Regions from separate parts of the Homo sapiens genome. Here region 1 is linked to region 2. The links are contacts of gene promoters, found by promoter capture Hi-C in blood cells and fetal thymus (Javierre and others, 2016). All regions are on one chromosome and are shown on one strand. Each heading gives the region's core, a stretch centred on a gene start or on the middle of the fragment in contact. The rest is flanking DNA. Distances are from core to core; before and after follow the strand shown.

The links. Contacts are between HindIII fragments. The CHiCAGO score rates a contact against its expected background, and 5 or more counts as called.
Region 1: a contact is called between a fragment that was not itself captured here and the fragment with the promoter of KRTAP1-4 in region 2, in 1 of 17 cell types (naive CD4 T cells). The highest score is 5.2, in naive CD4 T cells.

The regions. Positions count from the first base shown.
Region 1 is chr17:41,654,152-41,661,137 of GRCh38, reverse strand. LOC124904004 (a long non-coding RNA gene) reads left to right here and starts at 6,004. Exons shown (of 2, transcript XR_007065756.1): 1 at 6,004-6,986. RefSeq lists enhancers at 354-853, 6,193-6,889, 6,890-6,986. The HindIII fragment of the contact is 2,956 bases long and covers 3,977-6,932 here.
Region 2 is chr17:41,024,846-41,032,163 of GRCh38, reverse strand. KRTAP1-4 (keratin associated protein 1-4) reads left to right here and starts at 1,969. Exons shown (of 1, transcript NM_001257305.2): 1 at 1,969-2,813. The coding sequence starts at 2,086. The coding sequence ends at 2,451. KRTAP1-5 (keratin associated protein 1-5) reads left to right here and starts at 4,956. Exons shown (of 1, transcript NM_031957.2): 1 at 4,956-6,138. The coding sequence starts at 5,009. The coding sequence ends at 5,533. RefSeq lists an enhancer at 2,330-2,879. The HindIII fragment of the contact is 2,506 bases long and covers 813-3,318 here.

The DNA of each region.
Region 1 (6,986 bases), core at 4,205-6,704, 630 kb before region 2:
GGTGCCCAATTCATGGCAGGTGTTGCCAGCCCACCCAGGAGCTCACAGCCAGGCTCCATGGCTCCACCCTCCTGCCACCCCTGGAGTGGGGGTGGGGGGTGGGGGGTGGGACTCTGTCCTTCCGACTGTGGCCCCTGGCTGTCTTCCACTTTGTAGAAAGCACTCAGTGAAGGTTAGCTGTCATCTGTCCTCCCTGGCTGCATGTCCACACCTGCAGGCCTCTGCTCTTGCAGTCCCTCCTCCTGGTGAATCCCCTGTCCTTGACATCTTCCAAGAGACCACCACCATAATCAAGACAGAGAACATTCCCTTCACCCCAAACACGTCCCTTGTGCCTCTTCCCAGTCGACCCTGACTTAAAAATAATCTCCCGATTACCAAGTGCTTGCAGGGTGTCAGGTGCCACAGGGGCCCTAGGCCAGTTGGTCTCACTGAAGCCTCTGGGACCTGGTGACGTGGGGGCAGTTGTTACAGGGGGTACCTTAGGGCTGAGGGCTCTGAGGCTGGGGGATGGGAAGCAACACGGCCACGATGGGCAGGAGGCAGAGCTGGGACCTGAATCCAGGCACATCTCTTAGCCACTCTCCTGCCCTGCCTGTCCCCCAGCCCTTCGTGTTCCTAGGGCCATGTTTCTCACACCTCCTTTACTCCTGGCTAATCTGGGTGTGGCCTGGGACCCGCAGCCTTGGCGTCCGCTGGGAGCTGGTGGGAAATGCAGAGTGTTGGGCCAGATCCCACACTACTGAGTCAGCACCTGCTGTTCTGAGGCTTGGAAGCTCTGTCCTGAGGCAGGCTCTTCCTGGGAATTGGTGGCCGTGTCTGCATCCCCTCCCCTTCCCTGCTCACTGTGAGCTCCTGGTGGGCAGGTGCTCAGCTCTCTGGTGCTCACTTTGGGGACTGGCCCTTGGCCCCCTGAGAATCAAAGTTAAATGAATAGATGAAGGGAAGGGCAGGTGGTCAGAGCTTTGGGTTGAGGGTGTGGGGGTGCAGGGCTGTGGTGCTCAGGAGCTGGTGGGAGGAATGGGGCCAGGGGCAGGGGCCGGTCTAGTCACCTGTTTGGAGGTCTGGTTCTTCACTCACTCTGGCTACTGCCCAAGTTGACTCAGGGAGTCTGTGTTCATTTGCATACCTTTGCATGTGGTTAGCATATCTCTCTGGTGCAGTACGAGGCGCAGGCTGGATTGTGGAGCGGAGAAGGTGGACAGGACAGCGGGTTGGGGGCGTTGGGGGCTTTAGGGCTGCAGATATGTTTCTTGGAGCAGGTCTGGAGTTTGAGCACCCATCCTCTTTGGGTGAGGAGAGAGGCCTGCTGGATCCTCCTGGCTCTGGGTACCTGCTGGGGCTGGGCAGTTCCCACCTCCCTGCCTTCGCTCCTCAGTGGCCCTTTCCTGGAATGCCCTTTCCCCTGTGTCCCTGTGACAACCTTGTGATCTGGGTGCTGTGATCTGGGTGCTGGTTACACAGTTGGGTTCAGTCTGTGAAAATTCACTGAGTTGTACAGCAATTATATGTGCATTTTTCTGCATAAAAAATGGAAAAAGACCAGAACTAACTTCCAGGAAGAGTCCCATGCCTATTCCACAGCTGGGAGCCCTCCCCAGGGTGCCTCTCTTCCCCCTGCCCACCGTCTGCGGTGAAGGCCCTGGTCAATTTCAACTCGACTGAGTTTTATTTATTCACTCTCCTCTCCCCCTGGACTGTGAGCCACCCGGGGCAGAACCAGGTCCTGTTCATTCTTGTGTCACGTCCTATTAATTCTTGTGTCCCCCTGACATGGGACCTGGCACAGGGCAGGTGCTGAACCCATGGGTTCGACCTCACCATCTCTGGGGTGCTCCAGGAGGCCTGGGGCACTGACCACCTGGAGGGGGCATTTCTCCTTACTACCGCCACCCCCAAGCACACAAAAGGCCAGCATTACAATGCCCCTGCTGTGGCCCAGGGCTAGAAGTGGGACTCAAGGGTCCCTGGGTGGGAGTGGGTGTGGGGCACGGCCACCGTGTGGTCCTCAGTGCCCTGCCCTCCCCTGGTTCTCTCTAGCCCGGGTGGCACCTCCTCTTGTCTGTGGTTCATCCCCGGCCTTGAGGCCATCTGGGTCCCTGCTGAGTTCCTCTTCAGGCTTGGGGAGGGGGAGGCAGAGGCCTGGCTTCTCTGGACTGGGCCTGCATGCTGAGTGGCTCTGGGCCTGCCTGGCCTGGCCCTGCCTCATCCCTGCCAGCCCCTCCCTGCCCTGCAAGTTGGGGCCTCCCTGCCACCTGAGTTACAGAGACCTGTAAGCGGGCACACAGCCCCCTCCCCACTGTCTAGAACTTGGCAGAGGAGGACTCTGGGCAATGGCCTGCCTCTCTGGCCTCAATTTCCCTTTTCTGTAAAATGGGGAAAACAATTCAGGCAGCTGCCAGGTCAGATCAGTCAGAGGGTATGGGAGACCTCGGCACCCAGGCGTGTGCAGAGCAAAAGCCTGCTGGGTGTGTGTGGGGTTCGTGAGGGCGCTCTTCAGCTGGGCTGGGGTCTGCACGGTGGAGCAGGTGAGGGGGTGGGAACCTTGTTGGGGAGAGCACAGGAAAGTCAGGGCCTGAGTTTCGGCCCAACTTGATCCTAACTGGCTGCAAGCCCATCCCTCCTGGGCCTCACTTTACTTTTTTGTAAAGGGGGTCCTGAGTGAGATTGTCCTTCAGCCCACATGAGCTCCAAGGCTGGCTGAATGCCTTGCTTTCTTTGGCCTGCACAGGGTGTTATTTTGGAATTAGTTTCCAAATATGAAGCATCAGGAGGCTTCCCATACAAATCCAGAGTTCTAGCTTCCTGGGTGCAAAGCGAGAAGATCCGGCCTCCTGGGATTCCCTGTTTGCAGGCGGCAAGTGGCACAGTAGCGGGGGAAGGGGCCCTCGGTTCTCCCTGCCCCAGGGCCGACCCTCCTGCTGCCCTGCCTAGGACCCTCAGCTGCTGGCCACCCAGCCCCACACCCAGTCCTCTGGTGGCTGGTGCACCTGTGTGGGCAGGCCTCTTCTGTTTTGCCACCTTGCAGCTTCGGAGGGCAGGTCTGGATCAGACTGGCATTAGCTCATGCGCTTATCCAAAGCACACAAAGCAGAGATCTAGGTCTCAGCATTTCCTGGGGGTGTCCGGAGCCGTGGTCAGGGCCCAGAGACCGTGTCTGTGTGTGGGGTGCTGAGTCGCTCCTGCTGGGGTTCAGTCCTTTCCTTCGCCCTTCACTGGCCCCCATTCCATGTCTCAGCCTGGTCGCAAGGCCCTCAGAGACTGGACCCTGCTGTCTCTCTCTCTCTCTCTCTCTGTCTTTTTTTGAGTAAGCAGAGGGGTGTTTATTGACCTTGAGACAGGGGAGCTCTCGCCCTGTGTGGGAGGCCTGAGGGGCTCCAGAGCCCTGGGTTTCTTCCTTGCTTGAACAGAGGTGGTCCGGAGTGGTGCGTTGTGTGGCCCTGGCTCCGTGTTAAGTTAATGGCTGGGTAGGACGGAACCCTGGACTCCTGCCCCTGGCCTGTGTTCTTCCTGTGGTTCCAGGTTCAGAACAGCAAATGGCAAGGCCCCTGGCTCTGAGGCCGGGTGGTTTAAGGAGGTGGCGATGTAGGGAATGTGGGTTTGAAGGCCCTGGGCCCAGGTAACAGGATGAGTCCAAGCAGGGATTCCAAGTCTGCCGCAGGGACCCGCCCGGTGCCAGAGTCCCCTGACAGGGAAGCCCCCGCCTCTGCCCCACCACATCCTTCCCCTGAACGCGCGGCTGCAAAACCACACTGGAATTCCCGAGGGTCAGTGCCGAAGTGGTCCCAAACTGAGGAGGACACTATGCATGGGGACAGAGGAGGGGGCCATGGGGTAAGGGGGACAGGAAAGGCCATCACAGCAGGGCCCAGAGGGGAACTGACCCAGGCTGAGCAGGAGTCCCAAGGAAGGGCCCAGGTGCTGCCTGCCACCAGGACCCCCGCATTACAGAGGCCTCTCTTGCAACAAGAAAGCTTGGAACTCATAGAGGTGTCCAGAACCTCCACATTCCAAATGATGGTATCATTCTTGGGGCAGGAGGGAAAGGAGGCAGAGCCTGTTCCCCACTCTCACTTTCCCAGATGCCACAGGGACCCAGACTCCCTGTGTCTCTCATATCCCGAGACGCAGACCCTGTCAGGGAAGGGGCATGTGGCAGCGGGGCAGGCATGCCTGTGCCAGGCTGGGGCCACCAAGCACTGGTGGCAGCATAGACCTTGGGGTCTCTCTGTGCACAGCAGGGCCACCAGCAGGGCCAGGGCAAAGGTCTTCATGGTGTGGGAACTGCTCATTCTCGCTCTCTCTGGCCGGGCTGCAAGGCAAGTGGTCCCTTCCCCTGCCCCGCCATCTTTTGGCCTCACCTTCCTCCCTCCCCATGGAAGGCCCACACTCCTGTGTTCCTTGTGGCACTGCCTGGTCACAATCTCAAGTCCTCTTCCTTTCTTCCCTACCTGCACCCCCCACCCCCTAATTCAAGCCTCGGCGTCTCCACCCTCCCCAAGCCATCCCTGCCCCATCAACGAGGGCCAGCTCTATGCCCCTGATGACCTGCCAGCCTCCTGAGCCAGGCTGTGCACTCTCTGACTGCCAGGCCAGCCTCTGTCCTGCTTCCCCTACTTCCTGCTCAGAGCCGGTCATGCTGAGGCTGCGATGGAGACCTGGGAGCAGGAGGCAGCAGGGGATTCCTTGGGCTGTGGCTCTCATCATTGCTGAGAGAGGGAGAAAGGGCCCGGCCATTCCTGACCACAGCCCTGGGCTCCTGCACTCAGCCGGGCACTCACTGCATGCCAGCCTCAGACAGGGCAGTAGGGCCGCCTGGATGTGTACTGAGCCCTTCCAGCCAGGGCTTCAAGGCCGGGTCACAACTCCCGGCTCAGTGCCCAACTCCTCAACCCCTCAGCATCCACCTGCCCAGCTCATGACAGGGAGGACAAAACAAAGGAGGCCCCTGTGGGACTACACAGGCCAGCTCCTGACACTATATAGGTGGGGAAACTGGGGCCCAGAGAGGGGCGGTGACTTGTCCAAATTCATGGGCCCAGAGCTGGGCTCCTAGGCCTCTCTCCCGGGCGGCCTGAGTTAGGCCGTGGTGCCGTCAGTCCCGGAAGGTTGGGACACCCACGGCAGTACCTGACTTGCCGGGGCCCAGCCTCCAGCCCACAGCCCTGCTTTGAGCAGCAAGGGAGGCTGCCCCGCCCCCAGCGTCTCCTCCTGCCTGACTGAGTTTCCCAGAGCCAGCAGAAAGGCAGGGCCGATGCAGGTCTGAATCCGCCCAGGGATCTGGCAGTCCCAGCTGGCTTGCCCTGCCCTCGAGCCCTGGGAGCGGGAAGTGAGCCTCCCCACCTCAAATCCTCCACCTTCCCTGCCACCCACACCTTCAGCCCGGGGCCCAAACATGGCAGGGAGCCAGGCCCCTCACCTCCCTCCTTGGTAACCGAGGCAAACACCCAACACTGGAGACTGTTTGTCCTGCCAACGCTGCACCCCAACCTGAGCCCAGACGCCCTGCCGCAGTTGGGAGAAGCCTGGCTGGGGGAGGGGACGTGGCAGGGGCAGCCAGAACCTGTGGGCTTGGGGACCCTTCCCCTCCACTCCAGTTCCCCAGGAGCTTCTGAGTGAGCACAGGGCAGCGGGGCTGTTGTCTCAGCACCTTTGACTGTGAGGCCCCCAACCTCAGCCTCTGCTCCACCCCTAAGACTGTGCGCCCGGAAGGTGGAGAAGGGCTGGCTGGGGTGAGAGGGTCTGTGCTTGAACTACAGCAGAGAAAGAGAGCAGAGGGAGAAAGTTCTCTCTGGCCAGCCCAGCTGTGGGAGGGCTCAGGGAGGGAGGCCAGTGGGCCCTTTCTTTGCAGGCAGGGAGGGATGGGAGATTCTACCAGCGCCAGACCTGGGGGGCTCTGCCTCCTGATCCCCAGGGTCTGGGTGGGCACCGTGAGGCACTCCAGCGTCGCGTTTGGGGGCTGGCTGGGTGGGCAAGGAGGTGGATGTCAGGGCCTGGGGAGGCTGGGGTAAGGTGGCGCCAGGAGGGGACGGGCAGTTTTTCTGGCCTTCACTGGCCTGTGGTTTCCGCAGTGCAGGGCATGGGACTGTGGGGCGATGGAGCAAGGAGGATGGAGTTTCTGTCCCTGGGAAGCCTCTTGTCTGAGGGGAGACATGCCCCGAGCCTTCAGGGACCGCCTAGTCGGAGGGGGAGACACAGCCCTTGTCCTGGGGAGTTTGGAATAACCGTATTGGGGCCAGGGACAGAGGATGATGGAGTCACCCTGCTCTGCATGGAGCACGGGACCACCCGGCCTCACGGGGCTGGGCAGACGCTTCTGTTTCTTCTGCATGGAGCACGGGATCACCTGGCCTCATGGGGTTAGGCAGACGCTTCTGTTTCTTAGGAAGAGGTCTGTTTGCTTCTCAAATGCTTCCCGGGAACCTCCTCCACCACTGCAGCCCTGCACTGTGGGCAGGAATGTCACTAGCCCCCTTTTACGGATGAGGAAACTGAGGCTCAGGCATCTGGGAAAATGTGCTGTGGGCAGCCCCCCCGGACAGAGCTGTGCTGGCACCCTCCAGACAGTGCAGGAGAAGGGCAGGTCCCACAGAGTCCCTGCTGTTCCCCCAAGTCCTGAGGCCAGGGGGTGCTGTCTCTACTCTCAGTCCCCTGCCAGGACCTGTCCCCTGGTTCAATCCCAGGCAGGCCAGCGGGGAGGGTGGGGTGGGAGACTTGGTTCTGCTGAGGCTGCAGCTTCCCTGGCCCACCTAGGCTGAGTCAGGGCTGGGCAGGAGCCGAGGGCAGCAGCTTTCCCAGGGCCAGCCCGGGCGGCGTCCGCATTCCTCACTTGCAGGGTGCGTCTGGGCTTGGCTGAGCCAGGTGTGCTGTGCCCCACCCAGGCCCCCGCCTGCAGCTGAGCCAGCTCAGCGCTGGGGCCTTGTAAGGAAGCTTCTGGCAGCCACCAGGAACGGGGTGTGGGAACTGCTTGGCTTGCATGTCCTTGC
Region 2 (7,318 bases), core at 720-3,219:
CATTTACATTAAGTTCCACTTGTAAGTGAGAAAGTGCAATATTAGTCTTTTTCTTTGTCTGACTTATTTCACTTAGTATAATGTTCTCAAGTTTAATCTGTTGCCCCAAATAGCAGGATTTCCTTCTTTTATGACCAATAATATTCCAGTGTGTGAGTGTGTGTGTGTGTATGTGTGTGTGTATCACATTTTCTTTATCCACTCATTTAATGATGGACATGGACACTTAGGTTGCTTCCATATCTTGGCTATTGTGAGTAATGCTGCAATGAACATGGGAATGCAGATGTCTCTTCAAAATACTGATTTACTTTCCTTCGGGTATATACACAGAAGTGGGATTGCTTGATTATATGACAGTTCTATTTTTAATTTTCTGATGAACCTTCATATTGTTTTCCATAATGGCTGTACTAATTTACATTTCCACCAACAGTGTGCCAGAGTTCTCTTTTCTCCACTTCCTCTCCAACACTTGCTATCTTTTGTCTTTTTGATAATAACTATCTAATATGTGTGAGACGATATCTCATTGTGGTTTCAATTTGCATTATCCGATGATTGGTGATTTTGAAAATTTTTCATATACCTGTTGGCAATTTGTAGATTTTTTTTGAGAAATGTCTATTTAGATTTTTTGCCCATTTTTCAATTACGTTATTTGTTTTCTTACTACAGGTATTGAGTTGTTTGAGTTTCCTCTATACTTTGGATATTAACCCTTTATCAGATATGTGGTTTATAAATATTTTCTCCCATTCAGCGGTTTGCGTCTTCACTCAGTTTAGTGTTTTATTGGCTGTGCAGAAGCTTTTTAGTTTGATGTAATCCCACTTGTCTATTTTTGCTGATGCTTTTGGATTCATGTTCACAATATCACAATATTGGCCAGGCAAAAGTCATGGAGTTTCCTCTGTTTTCTTCTTATAGTTTTATCATTTTGAGTCTTTCTTACATTTCAGTCTTTTAATCCATTCTAAGTTGGTTTTTGTATATAATGTGAGACAATGGTCTAATTTCATTTCTTCTGAATGTGAATGTGGTCAAATGATTTTCAACAAGGGTGACAAGACTATTTACAAATGGTTAAGATGGTTAATGTAAATGGTTCATAAATTTTATGGTATGTATATTTTACCACAATTAAAAATTTGTAACTATAAACATGTGTAGGAGACCCAAACTTTTCTGAAATAGAAGATATATATGTATATATGCTGGTTTATATTTGCAGAAGCAAGGATAAAGGTGTCAAAGAATGTGCACCAAATTCTTAATATTGATTACCTCTAGAGCATTAGTTTTGGAAGAGATGTGTGCATCTTCCAGGAAGGGAAAAGACACTAATTTTTCTTTATATACCTCTGTACTCTTTGACTTGTTACAATGTGTACTCATTACTAGCACATATGTTTAATTTAATAGAGTCAGAAAACAATCTACAAGCAAAAGTCATTAAAGATTTTAGTTAGCAATTTGTACATTCACTATTACTGAAGGCAAGAATATTAGATAGAGCTCTGAGGATCCTATAACTTGCACAAATTGATCATAGAAAGGCATACTTGGTTTGAAAGTTGATACATCAGGTTGTAGTTCATGTTTTGATGACACTAATGTTAGTCTTTCCAAGTCTGGACAAATTGTTTATAAAATCATGATCATAGTTAAGTGACCATTTAAGGAAAAATGATCAGTTAAGATAAATTCTGCCTAAAGGTTATCAAAGGACAACTATGACAAAACGTGCCAGGGCGACACTTGGCTCAAGGCTAGTCTGTCATGTGACTTGCATAAAGAGGCACTTCGGTGCTTGGCTTCCATGATGAGCCTTCACTTCGCCCAGAGGGCAAAGAAGAAACATAATGAGACTTAATTGTACAATGGAAAAAGGCTATTGAAATGCTATTTATAACTTTATAAACACCTCAGGTATTAGCCAGAGACTCACACTGAAATTGACATCAAGAAAAGGTGTTGGGTAAATATGCAGCTCTAGGGAACATATCAAAGGACAGATATAGAAGGTACAGCCCAAACTCAGAAACCTCTCTTAACACAGCTCTCAACCCAACTCCTGACACCATGGCCAGCTGTTCCACCAGTGGGACCTGTGGCTCCAGCTGCTGCCAGCCAAGCTGCTGTGAAACTAGCTGCTGCCAGCCAAGCTGCTGCCAGACCAGCTCCTGCGGAACCGGCTGTGGCATTGGTGGTGGCATTGGCTATGGCCAGGAGGGCAGCGGTGGATCTGTGAGCACCCGTATCAGGTGGTGCCACCCAGATTGCCACGTGGAGGGCACCTGCCTGCCCCCCTGCTACCTGGTAAGCTGCACACCCCCATCCTGCTGCCAGCTGCACCACGCCGAGGCCTCCTGCTGCCGCCCGTCCTACTGTGGACAGTCCTGCTGCCGCCCAGCCTGCTGCTGCCACTGCTGTGAGCCCACCTGCTAAAAGCCAGGTTGCTGATCGCTTAAGAATGAAAGGGGAAGCACAGCAAAATTGTGCTGATTTCTGAAGAACTGTTCGATTTTACTTGGATGCTAAGTACCATGATGTTGTTAAGCTGCTCAGAGATAATGAAACTCCTAGTTAGGACACTGTGGATGTGCCGAATTCACTTACTGAAAGATGTATCAATCAGTGTTCTGGATAGCTTGCGTTGCTTGAGCAGAGGACCAGGATGGAATAGTTCATCATTTCAGTGACATCTCTGCTCCCCCAACTCTCTCTTGATGCTCATGCATCTTCAGACCTGGTTTTTCCTTGAATATCTCTGATTAATCCAAATAAAATGTTTTAATGTGCAAAGCAAACTGAGTTATGTCCTCCTTCTACCTTTAAACATGTCTTCTTGTAGCTGGTATTCAAGAGTGGATTTGCAATTTGATAATAATACCAAGGCATAACCATAAAGTCTAAACCAGAAAGATTAAATACAAAGTAAATTATGCTTGAATCCATCAGCTTAAAAATGCTCCATGAATTAAAGAATTTTTATAGTTCAAATATTTACATGCTCTAATCTATTATGATTAGGTCTAGACCAATAAAGGTTGACCTTTAGCTAAAATGTTAAGGTTGATCAAAGCTATTGATTTCTATCTAAATGTAATTCTACCATCTTTTGTCTCCTTCCATTTAATATACTAAATGTTCTCCTTCATTTATGCCCCAAAATCTAAAGAAATTGCATTACCTTCTAAATAGATTTAAAAATAGCTACTAGATACTACCTATTTTCCAAGAGAATTTAGGTTTAATTTCTACACCTTAGCCTTTCACATTCTTCCCACTGATCCTTGAATTGCTCTCTAAGCTTCAACTCCCACTATTCACCTTCATTTGATGTACGTATGCATAAGGTGTATCTTTGGTCTAAATGATAGTAGAAGAAACAGCTATAGAGAGCACCCGCTGAGTTCTACCATTGCCATTTGTCAGACAGAAGTGTTAGAAATCTGAAACAGCTCGATTATATTTTGCACTTTGCAACCCAACTTAAAAGATATTCTCTTAAGAAGTTAACACGCTGGACACGGTGGCTTACGCCTGTAATCCCAGCACTTTGGGAGGCTGAGATGGGTGGATCACGAGGTCAGGAGATTGAGACCATCCTGACTAATATGGTGAAACCCAGTCTTTACTAAAAATACAAAAAAAAAATTAGTCAGGTGTGGTCGTGGGTGCCTGCAGTCCCAGCTACTTGGGAGGCTGAGGCAGGAGTATGGCGTGAACCTGGGAGGCAGAGCTTGCAGTGAGCCAAGATCACGCCACTGCACTCCAGCCTGGGCAACAAGCAAGACTCTGTCTCAAAAAAAAAAATTAACACAACCTAGAACAAAACAAAACATATTTTACCATTTAATTTTTAAATTCTTCATTAGGCATTAGAGTGTAATACACAAAATACAATAGGATGCAAATATAGAAAGAAACACGTTTTCCACATTATTTACAAGCTCCCAGAACTTACCTCTATATTTAATTGGTAGCAATGATGGATTACACACAAAATTATGCAATTTCCAAGAGGAATAAAGTAGATGGCAGTACATTTTTCAAAGTGTCATAACTCCTAGATATTTTTTCCCGAGCCCGGTTCCACTACTAAATCCAAAAAATAAAATAAAATAAACCAAAAAACACATTTCCTAGTCTCTTTACAGCAAATAACAAGACTCTTTCATGAGAAGTACTACAGCTTGAAAGTTCTCTTTAATCATGTTTGAGTGGTATTGATATCCATGAATCAAGCCTTTTACTCCACCTATTCAATAAACATTTATTGAATCAGATTCAGTAAACATTTATTAAGGTTCTACCACAAACTAAGGACTCTGCTGGATACCTTCCTAAATACTATGTCAGTTTGGTTCCCAAGAACAGATTTCTGGTCTGGAACAGGAATAATAGTCACACATTCCAAATTGGTTGAAATCAAAGGAACTATAATCGGTAATTCAATAAGACATTGGAACAAAAAAAGGTGAAATCTGCGAATTATGTATGACCAAAGGTATTCCTTCAGTTCAGTAGATATCCAGATATCCAAAATTCAATAAAATTTAGTCTATATATCTAGGAGGAAAAAATAATAGTTAAATATAACAGCACAATTATTACTCTTAGCCTTAGAGGTATGGATAGATTGTCACGTGGAATAACTATTATGTAAAATGAGAGCATTCATTTGGACTAAAATGGAAGTACTCTTTGAACATGGGAAACCACAAACATATTCCAAAGAGCAAAGGACTGATATGAGGAGTCCAGAAGAAACTATAAAACAGTAATTTCTAAACTATTGCTCATAATGTGTCACAAGTATTTCAACATAAGCCAATCAGAGATCCACGGAGTAACAAATTTAAACAAAAACAAAGAAAATATGTTAACAATTTTGTAAACAGCAGCTGGTTCAGATATATAAAAGGACCAACGTGGAAGTCACCACCAAACCTCAGAAACTCCTCCAAGCAACCTAACTCTTAACCCAACTTCTGACACCATGACCTGCTGCCAGACCAGCTTCTGTGGATATCCCAGCTTCTCCATCAGTGGGACCTGTGGCTCCAGCTGCTGCCAGCCAAGCTGCTGTGAGACCAGCTGCTGCCAGCCACGCAGCTGCCAGACTAGCTTCTGCGGATTTCCCAGCTTCTCAACCAGTGGGACCTGCAGCTCCAGTTGCTGCCAGCCAAGCTGCTGTGAGACCAGCTGCTGCCAGCCAAGCTGCTGTGAGACCAGCTGCTGCCAGCCAAGCTGCTGCCAGATCAGCTCCTGCGGAACTGGCTGTGGCATTGGTGGTGGCATCAGCTATGGCCAGGAGGGCAGCAGTGGAGCTGTGAGCACCCGTATCAGGTGGTGCCGCCCAGACAGTCGTGTGGAGGGCACCTACCTACCCCCCTGCTGTGTGGTGAGCTGCACGCCCCCATCCTGCTGCCAACTGCACCATGCCCAGGCCTCCTGCTGCCGCCCGTCCTACTGTGGACAGTCCTGCTGCCGCCCAGTCTGCTGCTGTGAGCCCACTTGCTGAAAGCCAGTTTGCTTATTTTCAATTGCCTAGGTCACAGTGTCTCTGAACTGTTCATCCCTTGACCACCTCTGGACCACTAACAAGTTCTCAGACTTTGCATTGCTTGTGATGGAGACTACTAAGTATATGAGCTCACAATTCTATCTGATTCCATTCTACAATGAATACCTTGACCCTTCACTGGGGACACAGAAATGCTACAAAGCCACCTGCTGATCATCAATTTGCTTGGGATATACTATTTCTGATATTTCTGCAGGATTAAAAATTACTGACATGTTGTGGAATTTATCCATGAGAACTATCCACAAGTCTAATGTTTCCATGCTTTATAATCTATTTTATCTTGTTTACCTAAAATTTTTTGCAACATCAAAGACACCAAATTATAGCCAAGTGACATTCCTCAAGTCACCAGAGAGAATGGAAGCTCATCACCCAACATTCAGCTTCTAAGAAGTAGGCTGGACTTTCCACATTTTAACATCTGATCCATCCCTTGGTTTTTGGATCATAATGATCTTGCCTGCTGGATATTTCAGTTATATCTGTGATACAATGTCTTCTGTCATTTCTTAATAAATATTATATACTAGGCAAAGAAACCATTGTCTTTGTTTTCACTTGTACATCACCTGGTTTAACTGCTTATAATTCAAGAATGTCTACTTGAGGCCAAGAGCAGTGGTTCACACCTGTAATCCTAGCATTTTGGGAGGCTGAGGTGAGTGGATTACCTGAGCTCACGAGTTTGAGACCAGCCTGGGCAACATGGTGAAACCCTGTCTCTACTAAAAATACAAAAAAAAAAAAAAAAAATTAGCTGGGCGTGGTAGTGCACACCTGTAGTCCCAGCTACTTGGGAGGCTGAGGAAGGAGAATCGCTTGAACCCAGGAGGCAGAGGTTTCAGTGAGCTAAGATCATGCTACTGCACTCCATTACACTATGCAATAAACTGCAGCAAGCTCTCAAAATGGCAATTTCCTATATATGACACCAAAGAAGACATAAAGTGCATTAAAAAGTTAAGTAATGGTAAAAAGACACATATTTCCAAGTCGAAAGCAAATGTGGGAGCTTTTCTTTTATTGAGGATCATTGGCCATGTAAGGGTAGGTGGACAACGAAAGGGATGAAGCAAGATGAATTAAGGTATCGAAGGATGGAGACAAGAATGAAAAGGGGGAGAAGAGAACAAAATATAGGAGAAAAGACAGAGAGAAGACACAGTGAAAAAGGCTAGGTATGAGAGGCTGAAAGAAAAGGAGGAAGAGTGATGGAGAAGACACACCTGAAGGGAAAGGAGGTGAACCAGCGTGGCCTTGTTAGTACCATATGCTGTGCATGTGCCAGGTACACATCATGCGAACTTTGCTTCACATAACATCTATACTGATCCTGTGAAATAGATATTGTGATCCTGGCTTGTAGATAAGTAAGTCTAAAAGAAGTTAAATAGCTTGCTTACAGTCACATAGCTCATAAGTTTAGAAACAAAACTGAAATCTGAATGCAACTCTGTCTGACTCCAAAATTTATGGAGAGAATGAAATTAAGAAAATAGATATAAAGAAACGTGTGGGAAAGTTTGTAAGATTTAAAGACGGCTATTTCAGAGACTGTGGGCTTCAGAATAAGTTACTCTGTGCTGCTGGTTAAGTTGTGGTCTCAGAACTCCACATCCTCCCTACGATACTCAGCTTTATGATGTTAGTGATGAAATCTGCAAGCCACATTGTTGCTTTTCCAGCTCTCCATATTAGGCCTTGCTCCAGCCAGCCAGC